7 separate regions of the Homo sapiens genome follow, and all the other regions are linked to region 6. The links are contacts of gene promoters, found by promoter capture Hi-C in blood cells and fetal thymus (Javierre and others, 2016). All regions are on one chromosome and are shown on one strand. Each heading gives the region's core, a stretch centred on a gene start or on the middle of the fragment in contact. The rest is flanking DNA. Distances are from core to core; before and after follow the strand shown.

Region 1 (2,700 bases), core at 189-2,688, 450 kb before region 6:
GGGTAGCACCAAAACGGGTAGCAGGATGGACTGGGCCTGTGGGCCACAATCGGCCAATCCCTGGTGGTGTGACATAACGTGATGAGTGTTTTAACAGAGGCTGATGATTCTAAAAAAGCGATCACATTCTGCTTGGAATGGGGATGGCATCCTTGCCTTGACAGACGAATAGAAATTGTCAGGTGGAGAAGCCAAGGAAGGGCATTCTAGAGACAGAAATATATGAACCAAGGCATACGAGAGAAAAAGCACAAGTAGTACAATATGGCTTGATCAAGAGTGTATGAAGCGTGCAGACAAGGCAGATTAGGCTGGAAAATGGGGTGAAGCCAGATCAAGGCAGACCTTGGAGGCCAAGCTTAGGAATTTATATATTTTGGGCTAGTGATTCTGAACATTTTTTGGGTCTCTGATCTCTGGAAAATGGATTAAAATTATAGATCCTTCCCCAGAGAATGTAATTACATAATTTTGCATAGAATTTTGGGGTTGGGGGATTGATTACAATCTTCAGTGTCCCATTTATGGACCTCAGGTGAAGAACTGTTTTATACAAAAGTTGGTGGAAGGGACTGAAGGTTTTTTCCCCAGCAGGCAGCTGTATTTTTTCATTTCATTTCAATTTCATTTTATGTTCTTTTTGAGACAGAGTCTCGCTCTGTCACCCAGGCTGGGGTGCAGTGGCACGATCTTGGCTCACTGCAAGCTCTGCCTCCTGGGTTCAAGTAATTCTCCTGCCTCAGCTTCCCAAGCAGCTGGGATTACAGATGGCTGTCACCATACCCGGCTAATTTCTTTTTGTATTTTGAGTAGCGATGGGGTTTCACCAAGTTGGCCAGGCTGGTCTTGAACTCCTGACCTCAGGTGATCCACCCGCCTTGGCCTCCCAGAGTGCTGGGATTACAGGCATGAGCCACCGTGCCCGGCCAGCAGCCCTATTTTAATGCCATTTACTCTCCTGGCATGTGGCCTAAGTAGTGTCTCACCTCCGAATCTACAGGGTCCACAATGGAATCATTGAGGAATTTCACCATCACAAACTTCTTCAGGGCCATCAGGTTTTTCTTGTAGGACTCATTGATACCCTGAAAGAAAGGCCAGCAACACCTAAGGTCATTACCATCAGACACCAGCAGAGGGAGTAAAGCCTTCCTGTTTTCTGGTCTCCCTGACCCTGTGCCACTGTGTTTCTTCCCCATGGGTATGGGCTGTTTTCCAGCTTCCTGACCAGGATATACCTGTACAGCTTTTTTTTTTCTTTTTTTCTAAAAAACAAAATATTTTATTTTAGATTCAGGGGGGTACATGTGTAGTTTTGTTATAAGGGTATATTGTGTGATGCTGAGGTTTGGGGTTCTGTTGATCCTTTCACCCAGATAGTGAACACAGTGCCCAACAGGAAGTTTTTCAGCCCTAGCCTCTCCCTCCCAGCTTTTGGAGTCTCCAGTGTCTATTGTTCCCATCTTTATATTCACGTGTACCCAATGTTTAGCTCCCACTTATAAGTGAGAACATGTGATATTTGGTCTTCTGTTTCTGTGTTCATTTGCTTAGGATAACGGCCTCCAGCTGCATCCATGTTGCTGCAAAGAACAGGATTTCATTCTTTTTTATGACTGTGTAATATTCCATGGTGTATATGTACCACATTTTCTCTATCCAGTCTACCGCTGATGGGCACCTAGGTTGATTTCATGTCTTTGCTATGGTGAACAGTGCTGCAATAAACACGAGTGCAAGTGTCTTTTTGGCAGGACAATTTGTTTTCCTTTGGGTATATACCCAGTCACGGGATTGCTTACACAGCCTTTTCTTTTCCTTTTTTTTTTTTTTTTTTTTTTGAGATGGAGTCTCGCTCTGTCACCGAGGCCAGAGTGCAGTGGCACCATCTCAGCTCACTGTAACCTCTGCCTCCCAGGTTCAAGCGATTCTCCTGCCTCAGCCTCCAGAGTAGCTGGGATTACAGGTGATCGCCACCACATCCAGCTAATTTTGTATTTTTAGTAGAGACAGGGTTTCACTATGCTGGCCAGGCTGGTCTCGAACTCCTGACCTCAAGTGATCTGCCCACCTCGGCCTCCCAAAGTGCTGGGATTACAGGCGTGAGCCACCACGCCCGGCCTTCTATAGGCTTTTCTTACCATCCTATCTGACTGACATGCCACTGAGCATGGCATACAGGTACAACTATGAGTTTACACCACACTCCATAGGTGTCCATCACATAGGTGAGAGGCTTCTAGTCAGAGAAAGCCAAGACAAAATAAGAAACTGCAAATTCTGGGTCGTTCTGCTATATACTATTCTGTGTTGTTTTTTGTTTGGTTTGTTTTTCCCTTCAAACTGTTTCAAAACAAAAAACCAAAAGACTCTCCAGATGAGTCAAATATAAACTGAGCCATCTAGTTTACCAGAACCTACCAAACCATGTTTGTGTCTGGGACATACTCAGTGCCTACTGTATCTCTCTTTTAGGTAAATCTCTAGAGAAAAATCCACCCCCAGACTGATCCATCAGGAAAGCTTCCCTCATTAAGACAGCAGCTGTGAATTTCCACCTCGCCCAGTCAGCAACCTGCCGAGCTTATCCTGTGTGTTTCAACACTAGGAGAGGGAAAGAACTTAAGGGAAGAAAGGCAAATGAATTTCAACCTCCCTAAAGGGAACTGAATCTCAAAGGCCCTGCCTCCCAAAAAAAAC
Region 2 (2,700 bases), core at 169-2,668, 400 kb before region 6:
AGTCTCACTCTGTTGCCCAGGCAGGAGTGCATTGGTGTGATCTCTGCTCACTGCAACCTCTGCCTCTCAGACTCAAGCGGACAGGTGTGGCAGCTTACACCTATAATCCCAGCACTTTGGAAGGCTGAGGTGGGAGAATTGCTTGAGGCCAGGAGTTGAGAACCAGTCTGGGCAACAAAGCAAGACCCTGTATCTACCCCTGCTCCCCGCCAAGAAAGAAAAAGCTGGGTATAGTGGCGCATGCCTGTAGTCTCAGCTACTCTGGAGGCTGAGATGGGAGGATTGCTTGAGCCAAAGAGTTTGAGGCTGTAATGAGCTACGATCACACCACTGCACTACAGGTTGGGTGACAGAGCAAGACCTGTCTCAACCAAAAACTGAAAACTAAAGTCAGAGATGGAGGATGTCAGGAGTGTAAGAGACTAATCCATGAATTTTCAAAAAGTCTTGTCTAGAGTTAAGAGTGTATTATTGGCCGAGGGCAGTGCCTCACACCTGTAATCCCAGCACTTTGGGAGGCTGAGGTGGGCAGATCATCTGTGGTCAGAAGTTTGAGACCAGTCTGGCCAACGTGGTGAAATCTTGCCTTTACTAAAAATACAAAAATTAGCCAGGTGTGGTGGCTTCATGCCTGTAATCCCAGCTACTCAGGAGGCTGAGGCAGGAGAATCGCTTGAACATGGGGAGCAGGAGTTGCAGTGAGCCGAGATCTCACCATTGCATTCCAGCCTGGGTGACAGAGCGAGACTCCATCTCAAAAAAAAAAAAAAAAGAAAGAAAGAAAGAAAGTGCTATTAGGTATAATTTACAATATATAATTTAGATTTTTAATAAATACTTGGTTTTAAAATGTCTTTTGGAAATTTGGGATAGATATTGAATAGTGAATGCCTATATGTTTTTAAAGGCTTTGGAAATAATCAAGTGTATTCATTCAACTTATTCAATAAATATTTATTGACAGCTACAGTATCCCAAGCACTGGGACAAGTCAGTGAGCAAAACAGATGAGGACCCTTGTGATGCTTGGGGAAGACAGACAACAGCAATAGACATGCTAAATAACCAAAGTAAGCAATAGATTCTAAGGCAATAAGTAACAGGGAATTTAAAAAAAGAAATAGAACAGGACAGGAAGGAGTGCTAGTGACTACAGGAATGTTGTAATTTTTTTTTTTTTTTGAGACAAAGTCTCTCTCTTGTTCCCCAGGCTGGAGTGCAATGGCGTGATCTCGGCTGCGCGATCTCAGCTCACCGCAACCTCTGCCTCCTGGGTTCAAGCAATTCTCCTGCCTCAGCCTCCCGAGTAGCTGGGATTACAGGTGCCTGCCACCACGCCCAGCTAATTTTTGTATGTTTTAGTAGAGACGGGGTTTCACCACGTTGGCCAGGCTGGTCTTGAACTCCTGACCTCAGGTGATCTGCCCACCTCGGCCTCCCAAAGTGCTGGGATTACAGGCGTGAGCCATCGCGCCCGGCCAGGAGTGTCGTAATTTTAAATAGGATGGTCAAGGTAGGTCTCATTGAGAAGGGACACTTGTTCGAAGACTTGAAAAAAGATAGGGGATTTAGCCATGTGGTCATTGGGGGAAGAGGCTCTTAAGCAAGAGGAATAACACATGCAAAGGCTCCAAGGAAAAAGTGAGCCTGGTGTGTTTGAGAAACAGCGACTAGGCCAGTGTGCCTGAAGGAGAGTGAGCAATAAGGGGAGTGGAGGGGGATGACAATAGAGGCAGCCAGAGCCAGAGTAGGTAGAGCTTTATAGGCCATTGTAAGGACCTTGCGTTTTCTCTAGATCAAGATGTCTCAGTCTCAGCACTATTGACGTTTTGATAGATAATCTTTTTTTGTAGAGGATTGCCTAGCTCAAAACATTGTAAAATATTAAGAAGGATTCTTGGGGCTGGGCCTGGTGGCTCATGCCTGTAATCCCAGCACTTTGGGAGGCTGAGGCAGGTGAATCATCTGAAGTGAGGAGTTTGAGACCAGCCTGGCCAACATGGTGAAACCCCGTCTCTACTAAAAATACAAAAATTAGCCAGACATGGTGGCACACACCTGTAATCCCAGCTACTCAGGTAGCTGAGGCACGAGAATTGCTGAAGCCTGGGAGGTGGAGGTTGCAGTGAGCCGAGATCACACCACTGCACTCCAGCCTGGGTGACAAGAGCAAGACTCTGACTCAAGAAAAAAAAAAAAAAAATGAAGCATCCTTGGCCTTTTCCTACTTGACGCTAGTAGTCCCCTGCCAGTGTGACAGCCAAAAATGTCTCCAGACATTGTTAAATTCCCCTAGAGAAAAATCCTCCTCTCCTCTGATCCTTGTCAAGAACAACTAGCCTACATAATATCAAAAGCCTTTGGAGAATTGTAAGTAAAGGAGTGACATCTGACATGCTTTAAAACAACTTTATTGATATATAATTATATACCATAAAATTCACCTACAGGGTAAAATCTGTGGGTTTTAGTATACATAGTTGGGCCGCCACCACCAGAATCTATTTTAGAATGCTGTAATCACTCCCAAAAGAATCTTGTACCCATTATCAGTCAGTCACTCCCCATTTCCATTCTTTTGAATGTAGATATCCAGTCGTACCAGCACCTTTTGTTGAAAAGACTATCTTTCTGATTGAATTGTTTTGGCACCCTTGTCAAAAATGAATTGGTCATAATAGGAGAATTTATTTTTGAACT
Region 3 (2,700 bases), core at 161-2,660, 420 kb after region 6:
TGAGCCACCACACCCGGACAAGGCCTTTCTTCTGGCAGGCATTAATCAATTCCAGTGCAGGGGATACAGAGGAGAATAAAACAAGACGAAGTTCCTGGCCTCTGAGCTTATATTATGGTAGGAGAGAATGACAATAAACAAAATACTGTGTATTAAATACTGTTAAGCCAAGCTGTGCTAAATTGCATAGAGAAATTAAGCAGGGTAAAGGATAGAAGTTGATGGAGTGGTTCTATTTCAGGCAGTGTGGTTAAGAAAATACTCACTGATGGCCGGGCGCAGTGGCTCACACCTGTTATCCCAGCACTCTGGGAGGCCGACGCGGGTGGATCATGAGGTCAAGAGTTCGAGACCAGCCTGGGCAACATGGTGAAACCCTTTCTCTACTAAAAATACACAAATAAGCTGGGCATGGTGGCACACACCTGTAATCCCAGCTACTCAGGAGGCTGAGGCAGGAGAATCACATGAATCCCGGAGGTGGAGGTTGCAGTGAACCAAGATAGGGTCACTGCAATCTAGCCTGGGCGACAAATCGAGACTCGTCTAAAAAAAAAAAGGAAAAAAGAAAATACTCACTGATAAGGTGGCATTTGAGCAAAGACACAAACAAAGTGCAGATGTGAACCGTGCATGTGTCTGGGGGGAGGTATTCCTGCAGCGTGCAAAGTCCCTGTGATAGGAACGTGCTTAGCATGCTCTAGAAACTGCAAGTTGGCTGGTGTTTTAGGTCAGGCGATCTGGAAGCAGACTCTGAGAGGATTCCTGTATAAGTGATTGATTAGTGCTCCCTTAGGGGTAGGGTGGGGAATAACCAGCAAGGGTGTAGGGGAAGCAGGGCAGGGAAGAGGAGGAAGCCAAGCAAGCGTGTGATTTCATGCGAAATCCGGAGGAAGGTAGTCTCACCCTGATCCCACGGGGGTGGGGCGGGGTGGGGTAAGGTAGAGTCGGGTAGGAAGGGGAGCTCTGGCATATAAGTTACACCTCAGTGTTTGTTCCAACCTAAGGCAAGGTTGCTGAGACTTTCAAACTCTCCTCCCATTAACATCTGGCTAGGGTCATCCCAGGGAGCTTTTTCAAGTAAATTCTCAGGCACTTCCTCTGGGCAAAGTGGGCTCCAGTAGCGCCCTATCCAAAGAGCCATAGGTACTAGGTACTAGGTGTTGGGTACTAAGTACTAAATGTTAAGAGAAAAAGCTTAGCAAAGTTGGGGGCACACACAACATGAAGGAAAAGGGGATCTTAAAAGGATCTGGGTAAAATGCTAACAGTACCTGTGAAAGTCAGTGAGGTAGAAGAACAGAAGTCAGAGTAGAATCGTAAGAGAAGAGATAGTCAGCTGAGGCCAGATCAGGTAAATCAATATCTGATTTCACTCAAATAGGCAATGTGCTGAGCTAAAAAATCCACAGCTCTCCTTGCATCTAGGGGCGGCCAGTTCCACATACTCAAATGTCGATAAAAGTCAGCTGGAGGCACCTAAGAAAGCATTCATTTCCTGATAGAGGCACCACATTTTCTTCCTTGCCACTCCCTTCTTTTTGCCTGGAATGTGAACCCGAGGCTGGGGGTAAAGCAGTCATCTTGTAACCATGAGGTCACAGTGAGGCAAATGTGAGAGTAAAAGCTTTGTACTAAGCATGGTGGAGGGGCCTGAGACCCTGGTGATGTTGCAGAGAGGCTGCACTAGCCTGGGACGCCTGTCTCTAGACTTAATATCTTTTTTTGAAAGTTAACAAATCCCTATTCGATGAAGTCTGGCTTTCTGTTACATGCCAGTGGGCATCATCCCTAACCAATACTTCCTCCAAAGAGTTATAGATCTACACAGCCTCCTACATTCTGTGAGAGCACTTGTTCCCACTCAAATGCGCTGGACGTTATAAAGCTTTTTCCAGTTTGCCAATCTTCCACGTGACAAATCCTATCTTGTTTTCTTTCGGTTTTTGTTGTTTTGAGACGGCGTCTCACTCTGTTGCCCCGGCTGGAGTGCAATGGCGCGATCTCGGCTCACTGCAACCTCCGCCTCCCGGGTTCAAGCCATTCTCCTGCCTCAGCCTCTCAAATAGCTGGGATTACAGGCGCGCGCCACCACGCCCGGCTAATTGTTGTATTTTCAGTAGAGACGGGGTTTCACCATGTTGGTCAGGCTGGTCTCAAACTCCTGACCTCAGGTGTCACCACCCGCCTCGGCCTCCCAAAGTGCTGGGATTACAGGCATAAGCCACCACACCCGGCCTATCTTGTTTTATTGTGAATATGAGTTATGAGTGAGGTTGAGTATTTTTATATGTTTTTTGTGCATTTGTGTTTACGTGAAACTACATGTTTCTGTGCCTTGCCCACTTCCATTTGAAGGCCAAAAAAAAAAAAAAAAAAAAATCACAGCGGGCACTGGCATCTTAAGGGTTCTGAGAATTCCTGCAGCATGCAATGTGCATTTTAACTTTAGCATGGAATTCTCCAAAATTATTTGACCACATAACATATTTTGTCTTGGAAACCCTATTTCTATTAGTTAGGACTGAGCTTTCTAACTGGCATGCCATAAATGAGCCACAAGCATGTTGACCTATTCAACTACTCAAAATTTGACAAGAGCCAAAACATATTTGAACACTGTTAGATAGCTTCCTCTATGAACTTCCTGAATTAGGTAATAATTATTTTGGTGGTTAAGATTTTATTCAAAGCACTTGC
Region 4 (2,700 bases), core at 77-2,576, 430 kb before region 6:
AAAAAGAGAGTACAGCCCAGGCAGCATAGCAAGACCCCATCTCTACAAAAAAAAAATTTTTTTTTAATTAGCCAGGGGTGGTGGTATGTGCCTGTAATCCTAGCTACTGGGGAGGCTAAGGTGGGAGGATCACTTGAGCCCAGGAGTTCAAGGCTGCATTGAGCTATGATCTCGCCATTGCACTGAGCTATGATCTCGCTGTTGCCCTGGGCAACAGTGAGACCCTGTCTCTCTCAAAAAAGAAAAATGAGGTAAATTTACATAAAGTGACATGAAAAATGCCCTTAATATGTTGTAAAAGAAAAGTCGATTACAAACCCACGGTCTGTAATCTCTTCTATTCCATGCCATTGGGACTAGAGGTAAGTTGTTAGTTGAAAAGTCGATTAAAATGCAGAATCCACTGGGCGCACTTTGGGAGGCTGAGGCAGGTGGATCACCTGAGGTTGGGAGTTTGAGACCAGCCTGGCCAACATGATGAAACCCCATCTCTACTAAAAATACAAAAAATTAGCCGGGCATGGTGGTGGGTGCCTGTAATCCCAGCTACTCAGGAGGCTGAGACAGGAGAATCACTTGAACCCAGGAGGCAGAGGGTGCAGTGAGCCAAGATTGAGCTACTGCACTCCAGCCTGGGCAACAAGAGTGAAACTCTGTCTCAAAGAAAAAAAAATGCAGAATCATAAAGCATTATACAGTACAGTATACAGTTTTGTTTTAAGAAAAATAAGCTTATTGTATAAGCATTTTATTTTAACTTAAGACTTACAAATTGAAGTAGTTTCAGGATTTTTCTGTGAATATAGCCCGCTCAATGAAGTTTCCTGCCTTTAATGAACTATTTATAATTTCTTTAAAGGTTTCTTTAAACTGGAGCAATAACTGAAAGACACTTGTGAAGCAATCTGAATGCAATTTTTTTTTTTTTTTGAGACAGGGTCTTGTTCTGTCCCCCAGACTGGAGTGCAGTGGCGTGATCTTGGCTCACTGTAACCTCCACCTCCCGGGTTCAAGCGATTCTCGTGCCTCTGCCTCCCGAGTAGCTGGGATTACAGACACACCACCAACATGCCCCGCTAATTTTTTGTGTTTTTTGTAGAGACAGGGTTTCGCCATGTTGCCCAGGCTGGTCTCGAACTCCTGAGCTCAGGCAATCCGCCCCCCTCAGCCTCCCAAAGTTCTAGGATCACAGCTGTGAGCCATTGTGCCAGACCAACATTCTTTTTGTTTTTTATTTTTGATTCAGGGTCACATATGCAAGTTTGCTATATAGGTAAGTTGTATGTCAAGGAGGTTGGGTGTACGTTTTATTTTGTCACTGCCATAATGAACATAGTACCCAATAGGTAACTTTTCATTTCCACCCTCATGTAGGCCCCAGTGTCTGTTGTTCCCTTCTTTGTGTCCATCTGTACTTAATGTTTAGCTCCCACTTATAAGTGAGAACATGTGGTATTTGGTTTTGTTTTCCTGCATTAGTTTGCTTAGGATAATGACCTAAGCAGTTCCATCTATGTTGCTGCAAAGGACATTATCTCATTCCTTTTTTGGCTGTGTAGTATGCTATGGTGTATACCTACCACATTTTCTTTATCCAGTCTACTGTTGATGGATACTTAGGTTAATTCCATGTCTTTGCTATTATGAATAGTGCTATGATGACTTTTTTTTTTTTTTTTTTTTTTTGCGACAGGGTCTTGCTCTATTCCCCAAGTTGGACTGCAGTGACACAATCATAGCTTACTGCAGCCTGGAACTCCTGGGCTCAAGGGATCCTCCCGCCTCAGCCTCTCAAAGTGCTGGGATTACAGGTGTGAGCCACAGTGTTTGGATGTGAAATTATTCTAGATGGAAGACTTTCCACTCTCAGATTTCCGACCCAGAGTTACTTTAACAATTTTTTTTAACAACTTGCCTTTAACAAGCTTTTCCAATGCATTCAACTTAGTTTTCACAGAAACATCTCTTTTCTCTTTATGCTCATATTTCATGTTTTCAAAAATTTAACTAAATTATGATAGCAAATATCACCGATATATTAATAAATAAATAAAATAAGCCCAAAGGCATTTAGTAAGCAAGTAGCTCAATTGACAGGAACAGAACTACCCAAGAGTTCTGAAAAGCAGCCTCTAGCCATGTGGGCATGCTGTGGGCATAGGTAAGTAGGTAAGTACATTTTAGAACTGGGAGAGTAAGTTAAACAGGGCATAAGAAAATAACTATGTATTTATGTACATACATATATGATGGTTGTACAACTCTATAAATTTACTAAAAATCATTGGTTTGTACACATAAAATGGGTGACTTTTATGGCATGTGGAATATATTTCAATAAAGCTGTTCTTTTTTTAAAGAAGACATCTGTGTATTTATATATTTGTACATTATCACTGAAAGGTCAAAGCATTGCCAAGAAAAAAGAGGCTGGGTGCGGTGGCTCACGCCTGTAATCCCAGCACTTTGGGAGGCTGAGGCGGGTGGATCACGAGGTCAGGAGATCGAGACCATCCTGGCTAACACGGTGAAACCCCGTCTCTACTAAAAAATACAAAAAATTAGCCGGGCGTGGTGGCAGGCACCTGTAGTCCCAGCTACTCGGGAGGCTGAGGCAGGAGAATGGTGTGAGCCCGGGAGGCGGAGCTTGCAGTGAGCCAAGATCGAGCCACTGCACTCCAGCCTGGGCGACAGAGCGAG
Region 5 (2,755 bases), core at 10-2,509, 470 kb before region 6:
TTCTTAAATTCTTTTGACTGCGAATGACCCTTAGAAAGAAAGAACATATTCGTAACTGAGATAAAAGTTTCACAAGATGATATTTATACTACTTCTGCTGTACTTTTTTTTTTTTTAACTTTTTATTTGGAAATAACTTGAAGTTGGTGCACTGCACTCATACTTTTGTTCCATTAAGCTCACTAAATTGATTTAATTATTTATTAATGGGTCATGGTATCTGGCATTTGAGAGATAGCTTTAATCTAAAGGAGTAAATACCTTGAGAATTTTCAGCAGAAATTTAGGCCTTTGCCTTTACTCCTGTCTCCAATTTTTGAGAAAAGAAAGGTGTTTTTTTGGTTGCTGTTTGTTTTATTTTGCTGATGTGAAATAGGAAGGATTTTTCAGTGCACGGTATCACAATGCATGTGTAAGATGCTAACATGACTTCATGTAAGCTAGGTGATTATCCAATTAACTTCACTTCCAACTCTGGATATATATCCCTGATGAGTTCCAATAGGAACAGTAGTGTATGTAATTCTGCTCTCAGTCCCTGGAATCTGGAATACATGAGGAGGATAACATGAAGTGCCTGGGTTGCTATCAGAGTACATGGAAGTAGAGGTTTCAGGTTATTCTTATCAAGACTTCTCTAGTTATAATGTGTCATCAATAGCTGATTCTTCTTTCTGGCAGGCGGAGATGGTCCACACAGGTTTGAAGTTGGAGCGAGCTCTGTTGGTTACAGCTTCTCAGTGTCAACAGCCAGCAGAAGTAAGTTCACTACTAGCTGGTTTCATTTTGGTTTGATGCTCAGGACGAGTTGAGAGATTTATGTCAAGCTATTATAACATTTTAAAATAGACCTACTAGGCTTTTGATAATATATGTTCATACCAAGTCCCAGAGGTAGAGCCATACTTCAAGTGCCTTAATGGGAAGGTACTATTGGGTACTTAATGGTCTCTACTGGCTTTTTCTCTGTCATTTTGCATAGGACTGTGGTTATCCCTGGGACTTTGCTTGCCTGCCTCTTTGCTGAGTCCACATTCATCATAGTGTCTCCAAAGCCCTTTAAAGATGATTCTCTTGCTTCACTGTGGATGGGCTTTAGTAGTGCTCCTGTGGAGATCTTAAAACTCCTACAGTATTGCTTCTCTCCTCATCCTTCACTGGTTGGGAGACTCTCTCTTTAATTTTACTCCCACCTCAAAATTTTATGGTGCAAGATGTGAAAAGTTGAATTAGAGAAAATTTAGATTTCTCTTGGAGTCAAAGAATATAGGTTTCCTTCTTTTGCATTTGGTTTTCCTAGTTACAGAGGAATAATAAAGCAAGTTGTCCTAAATGCTGTATTAAAACCCTTGACCCTCAGCATGCCTAGATAATATAAAAATAGTGCAAGATAATGTCAAATATATTAGATTCTGGTTAAGTGTGCTGGCTCATTCCTGTAATCCCAGCACTTTGGGAGGCTGAGGCAGGAGGATCACTTGAGGCCAGGAGTTTGAGACCAGCCTGGGCAACATAGCAAGACCTCGTCTCTATTAAAAATTAAAAAAATAAAATAAATAAAAATAGCCAGGCAAGGTGGTGCATGCGTATAGTCCCAGCTACTTGAGAGGCTGAAATGGGAGGAAGATTTGGGCCTGAAAGTTTGAGGATGCAGTGAGCCATGAACACACCACTGCACTCCAGCCTGGGCGACAGAGCAAGACCTTCTCTCAAAAAACATTGTGTGTGTGTGTGTGTGTGTGTGTATAGATGCCATCTAATTCTAATATGTAGAATTAGATTTTAATTCTTAATCTGTCCTGAATGGTTAAGATCTGAGAATTGAGATGTTCAGGAAATGGAGCTTTGGAGGAAGGGTGCAAACACAAACAAAATTCATCCATTTTGCCAAGGTGCCTACTTGAATGCTAAGCCCCTAATTGTTTTTTATTTTATTTATGTTTAAAAAAAAATTTTTTTTTTGAGACAGGGTGTTGTTTTGTCACCCAGACTGGAGGGTAGTGGTGCAATCACAGCTCACTGAAGCCTTGACCTCCCAGGTGTAATGATCCTCCCACCTCAGCCTCCTGAGTAGCCTTGACTACAGTGTGCACCACCATGCCTGGCTTGCTTATTTACTTACTTATTTATTTATTTATTTCTGAGATGGAGTTTCTCTCTGTCGCCCAGGCTGGAGTGCAGTGGCAGGATCTCGGCTCACTGAAACCTCCACCTCCCAGGCTCAAGTGATTCTCCCACCTCAGCCTCCTGAATAGCTGGGACTACAGGCATGCGCCACCATGCCCAGCTGATTTTTGTATTTTTATAGAGATGGGGTTTCCCCATGTTGCCCAGGCTGATCTTAAACTCCTGGACTCAAGCGATCTGCCCACCTTGGCCTCCCAAAGTGCTGGGATTACAGGCGTGAGCCACCATGCCTGGCCCTAATTCTTTTTATTATTTGTAGAGACAAAGTTGTGCTGTGTTGTTCAGTCTGTCTTGAACTCCTGGTCTCAAGCAGTTCTCCTGCCTTGGCCTCCCAAAGTGCTGGGATTACAGGCGTGGGTCACCATGCCCAGACTAAGCCCCCTAATTGCATTTGATTCATCAGTTCTTTACAGCAGCTACTATATGGCTGGCAATGCATTGGGGGCTTTCATGATGATAAAAGAGCTCGTCTTTGAAGAATTAATGAGAAAGTAAAACATATTCACATGGGTCCATTAATAGTTTGTATTGGTGAGTGATAAAATGCCAAGATTGGTTATGCTGACAA
Region 6 (2,700 bases), core at 177-2,676:
CTCTACTGGATCTTTTGTTTTATTTTATTAACTAATTCATTTATTTGAGACAGAGCCTCGCTCTGTCGCCCAGGCTGGAGTGCAGTGGTGTGATCTCGGCTCACTGCAACCTCTGCCTCCCGGGTTCAAGTGATTCTCCCGCCTCAGCCTCCCAGGTAGCTGGGTTTACAGGCGTCTGCCACCACGCCCGGCTAATTTTTGTATTTTTAGTAGAGACGGGGTTTCACCACGTTGGCCAGGCTGGTCTCCAACTCCTGACCTCAGGTGATCTGCCCACCTAAGCTTCCCAAAGTGCTGGGATTACAGGCGTGAGCCACTGCGCCCAGCCTAGATCCTTTTAATTAGTACATAAACTTACTATAATTTCTTCCATCTTTTTTATTTTATTTTTTTGAGACAGAGACTAGCTCTGTCGCCCATGCTGCAGTGCAGTGGCGGGATCACGGCTCACTGCAGTCTCTACTGTCTGGGCTCAAGCGATCCTCCCATCTCAGCCTCTCAAGTAGTTGGGACTTCAGGCGGGTGCCATGCCAGGCTAGTTTTTTATTTTTTGTAGAGATGAGGGTCTCACTATGTTGCCTAGGCAGTTTCAGACTCCTGGGCTCAACCAATCCTCCCACTTTGGCCTCCTGAAATGTTAGGATTACAGGCATAAGCCACCACACTCAGCCCCATCTTTGAATTAAAAAAAAAAAAAAAATTAGAACGTGGAAAAACGCAACAACAAAAGATTAACAAAATCCCTATCCCATGATAGCCTTATTTTTCTGCTCACCTTAAAAACAAAACTTCTTAAAAGTATTGCGTATATTTGCTTTCTCCATTTCCTCTCCTCCCATCCTTCCCTCCAACTCCTATCAAATTTTCATCAGACTTTATCAAACTTCCACCACTGCCAAAATGGCGTTTCAACATCACTGGTGACCATTGCTACAGTGGCCCATTCTTAATTCTCATTTTACTTGACCTATGAGCAACATTTGAGACAATGGGTCACTCCCTTCTTGAAACACTTCCTTCCCTTGGTTTTGCAGATCTAAACTCTCCTACTTTTCCATCTACTTCATGGATTATTCCTTCTCAGTCTTCTTTGTTGGATCCTCTTCACCTCTCCGACTTAACCTGGTGCATTGCTAGAAGAAACCCTGCTGAGTAAGAGCAAATTGTTTTTAGCATACCGCCGATTTTACTTTCCAGTATTTAAAAATGCTGTGTATCCTTTTAAATGAAAACGACTTAAAAAGCGTGGCTCTCAGGCTAGCAATAGAGATACCAACCCGGGAATCTCCGCACCACCCCCCAAGAGGAAGCAGCGTCTGACGTCTTCCGGAAACGAGCTCCACTGGCCTTATGGGAAATGTGGTCTCCGACGGATGGCCTACACCCGGGAGGAGTCCAGGAACTCTAGGTGGACAGTTACTTCCGCACACGCGTAGTAGGACGGTAGCCGGTATTCAATCTTCAAATCAGCGCCGCGGGAAGTGCGGGCGGGTGTTGCTCCCCTGTCTCTGGACGACGCTGTGACTGATCCCAGGCTTGGAGCCGGAGCTGCGAGCGAGGCAGTGAAAGGGTGGCAGGTATGGCTTTGCTGGACTCGGAGGACGTAAGAGAAAGGCGGGGACTGGCTTCTAGGTTTACCCTACCGAAGATAAAACTTTAGTCTCCAAGCGCAGTGACTTCAGGTTTGGATATGTGGGTCCTGTTCAACTCGAGTAGCTGAGAGAAAGCAAGAGTTGGGCTCCGACTGGCACTGGGTAGATGTCCAGGGCTCTGGTGGGACTGGGAGAGGCTCAATTTGCATTCCTGCTCTTGTAGGTCAAGGTCACTATGTAGGAGTCTGTTCATCTAACTGTACCTTTCCTGGTTCCAAGAGCATAGTTGGCCCGACTGGAGCCTGCGACAATTTTAAGCCGTGTCAAGGGATCCAGTGGAAACTGTAAGCTATTTCAAGGGATCCAGGAAGAAAGCATTCTTGAGAAACTGCTATGGATTAGAAGGGTATTCTCAGCAATCATTTGAAGTAAATGCTATTACCATTTTGCATATGAGTTAACTGAAGCTGAAAGGTGAAATTACTTGCCTGGACTCACACAGCTTAGTAAGTGGAAGAACTGAGATTCAAACTCAGATACATTTTCTCCAAATTTCTTTTTTTTTTTTTTTACAGTATAGCATTCCTGCATAAAACAGAGTTGGGTTTATTCTCCTGAAATGTTTGAGCAATGAATGCTGAGTAAATTTCGATTTGTAGTCATTTTGTAGAGTCTCTTGGTGTATCTGCAGATCTTCCAGTGCAGACTGTGTAAATGAAGATGTGAGTCCCCGGTTTGCCCATTATACCCTTTCTAGAGCCCCAGCAGTTCTAAGCTCATAGGAGATGGCGAGTTTCTACAGAGAGAAACATTTGGAGTTTAAACTGAAGGATCCAGCTTAACAAAAAAAAAATAAAAAAAAGTGTTCCTGGGTCCCTGAATCCAGCCTTCTCAAGAAAGCCCAACCTAATTTGCAATCTCTTATCCCAGCGTCAGAGTAGAAACCAGAGAATCACAGGAAGGAATCATTTTTAGACTTACGGAGCTTCAGAGACCAAGCTTTTAAGTGAGTCAACTCATTCATTATTTCTTCAGGATAAATTTCTGGGAGGAAAAAAAATAACTGTTTCAAGAGGAACCACTTGGTGCTAGATCAGTAGGACAGAAA
Region 7 (2,700 bases), core at 162-2,661, 450 kb after region 6:
CTGCCTGTTCACCCTGTTCCCTTTCCTGTGCTCTGAGTCGTGCAGTCAGTCCTTCAAGGCCCATTGCAAGTCATATCTACAAAACAGGAGCCGCCTGGATCCGCCCACTACCCCCAGGACTTGTCTCACCTTCCTCTGATGGCCATGGTACTGAAAGCGTCTGCTCTCATCGTCCCCCTTTATAGTCTAAACATGTTTTCTGTCTGCTTCCACCGTCACTGAATTACTCATTTATTTGTTAATGTTTCATCTCTCCAACTGGACTGCCAGAAAGTTGAGATATGGGCCCAAATCTGATTAATGTTTGCAGTCCCCAAGCACAGTAGCTGTCATGTAAGTCAGTAGCCCATAAGGATGAATGAATGAGCCTCCCGCCTGATCTTTATGTACACTGGCATATGTATTGCCAGGCACTGAGACTGCAAGAATCTAAAGAGAGAAACTAAAGAACGTAAAGAGAGATGTTAAACTCTTAGAGTAAAATTGGGACAAATCAAATGTAATTGGATGAGATGAATCTTTTGTAGAAGTAACTCACTCGGTGGCAGAGGAATTTCTAGGATCATCCAAAACTTAGGGAGACCAGGGTATAGTCTCAGTAAGGTATATGTCTGGTTAGAACATATCTAAAATGTACCTAAGACTGATTTTCATGTGTCAATAAGGAACTGTAAAGTGAGAGACTTAGGGTCAGATAAGCTTGGAGACACCGCATACTGTATAGCAGTGATCACAGTGCGAGTTTACTTGCTAAACACTCCCAGGATTCTTGCGTTAAATGACTTGGTTTAATCAGCGTTTCTCTGATTTATATCCATAACACCCTTTTTGAGAATCCCATGTGCATTTTGTTGAAACCAGGGAGCATGCTTTTGGAAATGCTGCAGCAGAGGATGCAAAGAGCCTTTGGAGCGGGGAAGACTTCTGAGCATTCTTCCTTCCCTGCCAAGTGTGTTCTTTCTTGCTCTGGGGAGGGGGTGGGGCGGGGGAATGCTTCGAGCACAACTCCTTAGTTTTCTTGTTCCTTAGTTTATTTTTATCATAATTTGGCTTCACATGGAACGTTCCTGAGGAGGAAAATGTCCTGACCATGCCAAAGTAAGCATTTTCTGCTACTTTCTAATTGTGTTTTTCATTTTGGTCACATTTGGGTTTGCTGACCAAATGGACGATCCTGGACCTCTGAAGCTGGGGACCAGTGATAAATCCTCCGTGGTGAGCCTGTCACGGTCTCCTCACCTCTTGTCGATGCTGTTTTCACCTGCATCTTGACTCTGCTGCCCTTATATCTTATTTCTCCTTTCCCTGCCACCGTGGCACTGCTTTTTGGATTTAATCTCATCTCCCCTCTCTTTGAGTCCTCTGCCCGTCATGTGCTTCAGACTGGTTTCTTATCTGATGTCCCTCTCCCCCAGTATTTACAGTCTCTCTTCATTGCATGCCTGGGAGAGATTTCTGACAAGGAGCAAGTTGTTGTTAAATTATAGAAGAGAACTACTTTTTCTTTTTTTTTGAGGTAGTCTTATTCTGTCGCGCACGCTGGAGTGCAGTGGCATGATCCCAGCTCACTGCAACCTCTGTCTCCTGGGTTCAAGCGATTCTCCTGCCTCAGTCTCCTGAGTAACTGGGACTACAGGCGTGCGCCATCACAGCCGGCTAATTTTTGTATTTTTAGTAGAGATGCGGTTTCCCCATATTGGCCAGGCTGGTCTCGAACTCCTGACCTCAAGTGATCCTCCTGGCTCTGCCTCCCAAAGTGCTGGGATTACAGGCATGAGCCACCATGCCCAGCCAGAGAACTACTTTTAATTAAAGGAATTTTGGTTTAGCTGCAACCACTTTTAAATGTTGATGTTCTTTCCTTTTAGTCTATCTTTTGTAACCTAGAGGAGCTGTGTTTTCTTGATGATATGTTGTAGTTTAGCCAAAGACATTATTTATTTCCTGGAGAACTGGAGTACTTATCCAAGTTTGAATTTTTTTCCCATGTAGGGAAAATAATGAGGCACCTGCCTGGTATCCCAGTGTCTGGCAGTGATGTCAGCAAACATTTGGGGTGTAGTGTTCTATCAGCCAGCTTAGAGCTGGTTTTATTAGGTTGACTCTGAAGGTTATTAGTTGTCAAAGCTTTAAACAAAAGCTGTGTTATTAGAGTAGCAGTTGTTTTTCTACACGTATTTGACTAAAGCCATTCAGTGATCCAAGAAATGTTTGTTTTGATCCTATTTAAACCTGACGAGAACCTTCTGAAGTCCTGTGACAGAGAAACTGAGGCTTCAAGAGGGTTCATAGCTAATAATTGGCAGAGCCAGTGTTTGAACCCAGATGAGTTTGGTTTGTTGAGATACATTTATATCATCTGTAATTTTTCCTTCTTCCAGGTCAAAGAGTAAAATGAAGTACATTCTGGTTACTGGTGGTGTTATATCAGGAATTGGAAAAGGAATCATTGCCAGCAGTGTGGGCACAATACTCAAGTCATGTGGTTTACATGTAACTTCAATCAAAATTGACCCCTACATTAACATTGATGCAGGAACATTCTCTCCTTATGAGCATGGTAAGCACAGTGGATTTCTTCATAATAATTGCATGTGGCAGAACATGTCAGCACTTGGGAATTATGTGCACGGTTTGCATAACTTTTATTTTCTGCCTTCTAACAGGTCCCTTAATACAGCAGAATGATACTTTTCTCAC

The links. Contacts are between HindIII fragments. The CHiCAGO score rates a contact against its expected background, and 5 or more counts as called.
Region 1: a fragment that was not itself captured here is called in contact with the fragment with the promoter of ZNF684 in region 6 in 2 of 17 cell types (total B cells and naive CD4 T cells); the score reaches 5.2 in total B cells.
Region 2: a contact is called between a fragment that was not itself captured here and the fragment with the promoter of ZNF684 in region 6, in 1 of 17 cell types (megakaryocytes). The highest score is 5.7, in megakaryocytes.
Region 3: a fragment that was not itself captured here is called in contact with the fragment with the promoter of ZNF684 in region 6 in 2 of 17 cell types (endothelial precursors and megakaryocytes); the score reaches 5.6 in endothelial precursors.
Region 4: a contact is called between a fragment that was not itself captured here and the fragment with the promoter of ZNF684 in region 6, in 3 of 17 cell types (total CD8 T cells, naive CD8 T cells and total B cells). The highest score is 5.4, in total CD8 T cells.
Region 5: a contact is called between a fragment that was not itself captured here and the fragment with the promoter of ZNF684 in region 6, in 1 of 17 cell types (naive CD8 T cells). The highest score is 7.5, in naive CD8 T cells.
Region 7: a fragment that was not itself captured here is called in contact with the fragment with the promoter of ZNF684 in region 6 in 1 of 17 cell types (fetal thymus); the score reaches 5.7 in fetal thymus.

What each region holds. Positions count from the first base shown.
Region 1 is chr1:40,077,574-40,080,273 of GRCh38, forward strand. PPT1 (palmitoyl-protein thioesterase 1) reads right to left here. Exons shown (of 9, transcript NM_000310.4): 7 at 987-1,085. Among named protein-coding and RNA genes, the nearest start is that of PPT1, 18 kb to the right of the region's middle. RefSeq lists a silencer at 1,181-1,230. The HindIII fragment of the contact is 2,165 bases long and covers 357-2,521 here.
Region 2 is chr1:40,127,839-40,130,538 of GRCh38, forward strand. No RefSeq gene overlaps it. Among named protein-coding and RNA genes, the nearest start is that of PPT1, 32 kb to the left of the region's middle. The HindIII fragment of the contact is 4,148 bases long and covers 1-2,700 here.
Region 3 is chr1:40,953,966-40,956,665 of GRCh38, forward strand. No RefSeq gene overlaps it. Among named protein-coding and RNA genes, the nearest start is that of CTPS1, 24 kb to the right of the region's middle. The HindIII fragment of the contact is 430 bases long and covers 1,196-1,625 here.
Region 4 is chr1:40,098,513-40,101,212 of GRCh38, forward strand. No RefSeq gene overlaps it. Among named protein-coding and RNA genes, the nearest start is that of PPT1, 2.6 kb to the left of the region's middle. The HindIII fragment of the contact is 1,194 bases long and covers 730-1,923 here.
Region 5 is chr1:40,061,054-40,063,808 of GRCh38, forward strand. It overlaps CAP1 (cyclase associated actin cytoskeleton regulatory protein 1), which reads left to right. Exons shown (of 13, transcript NM_006367.4): 4 at 682-759. Among named protein-coding and RNA genes, the nearest start is that of CAP1, 22 kb to the left of the region's middle. The HindIII fragment of the contact is 3,835 bases long and covers 1-2,755 here.
Region 6 is chr1:40,530,211-40,532,910 of GRCh38, forward strand. ZNF684 (zinc finger protein 684) reads left to right here and starts at 1,427. Exons shown (of 5, transcript NM_152373.4): 1 at 1,427-1,577. LOC124904149 (a long non-coding RNA gene) reads right to left here and starts at 1,336. Exons shown (of 2, transcript XR_007066022.1): 1 at 1,278-1,336; 2 at 368-1,145. RefSeq lists an enhancer at 1,227-1,521. The HindIII fragment of the contact is 2,309 bases long and covers 281-2,589 here.
Region 7 is chr1:40,980,897-40,983,596 of GRCh38, forward strand. It overlaps CTPS1 (CTP synthase 1), which reads left to right. Exons shown (of 19, transcript NM_001905.4): 2 at 2,382-2,560. The coding sequence starts at 2,395. Among named protein-coding and RNA genes, the nearest start is that of CTPS1, 2.6 kb to the left of the region's middle. The HindIII fragment of the contact is 1,428 bases long and covers 698-2,125 here.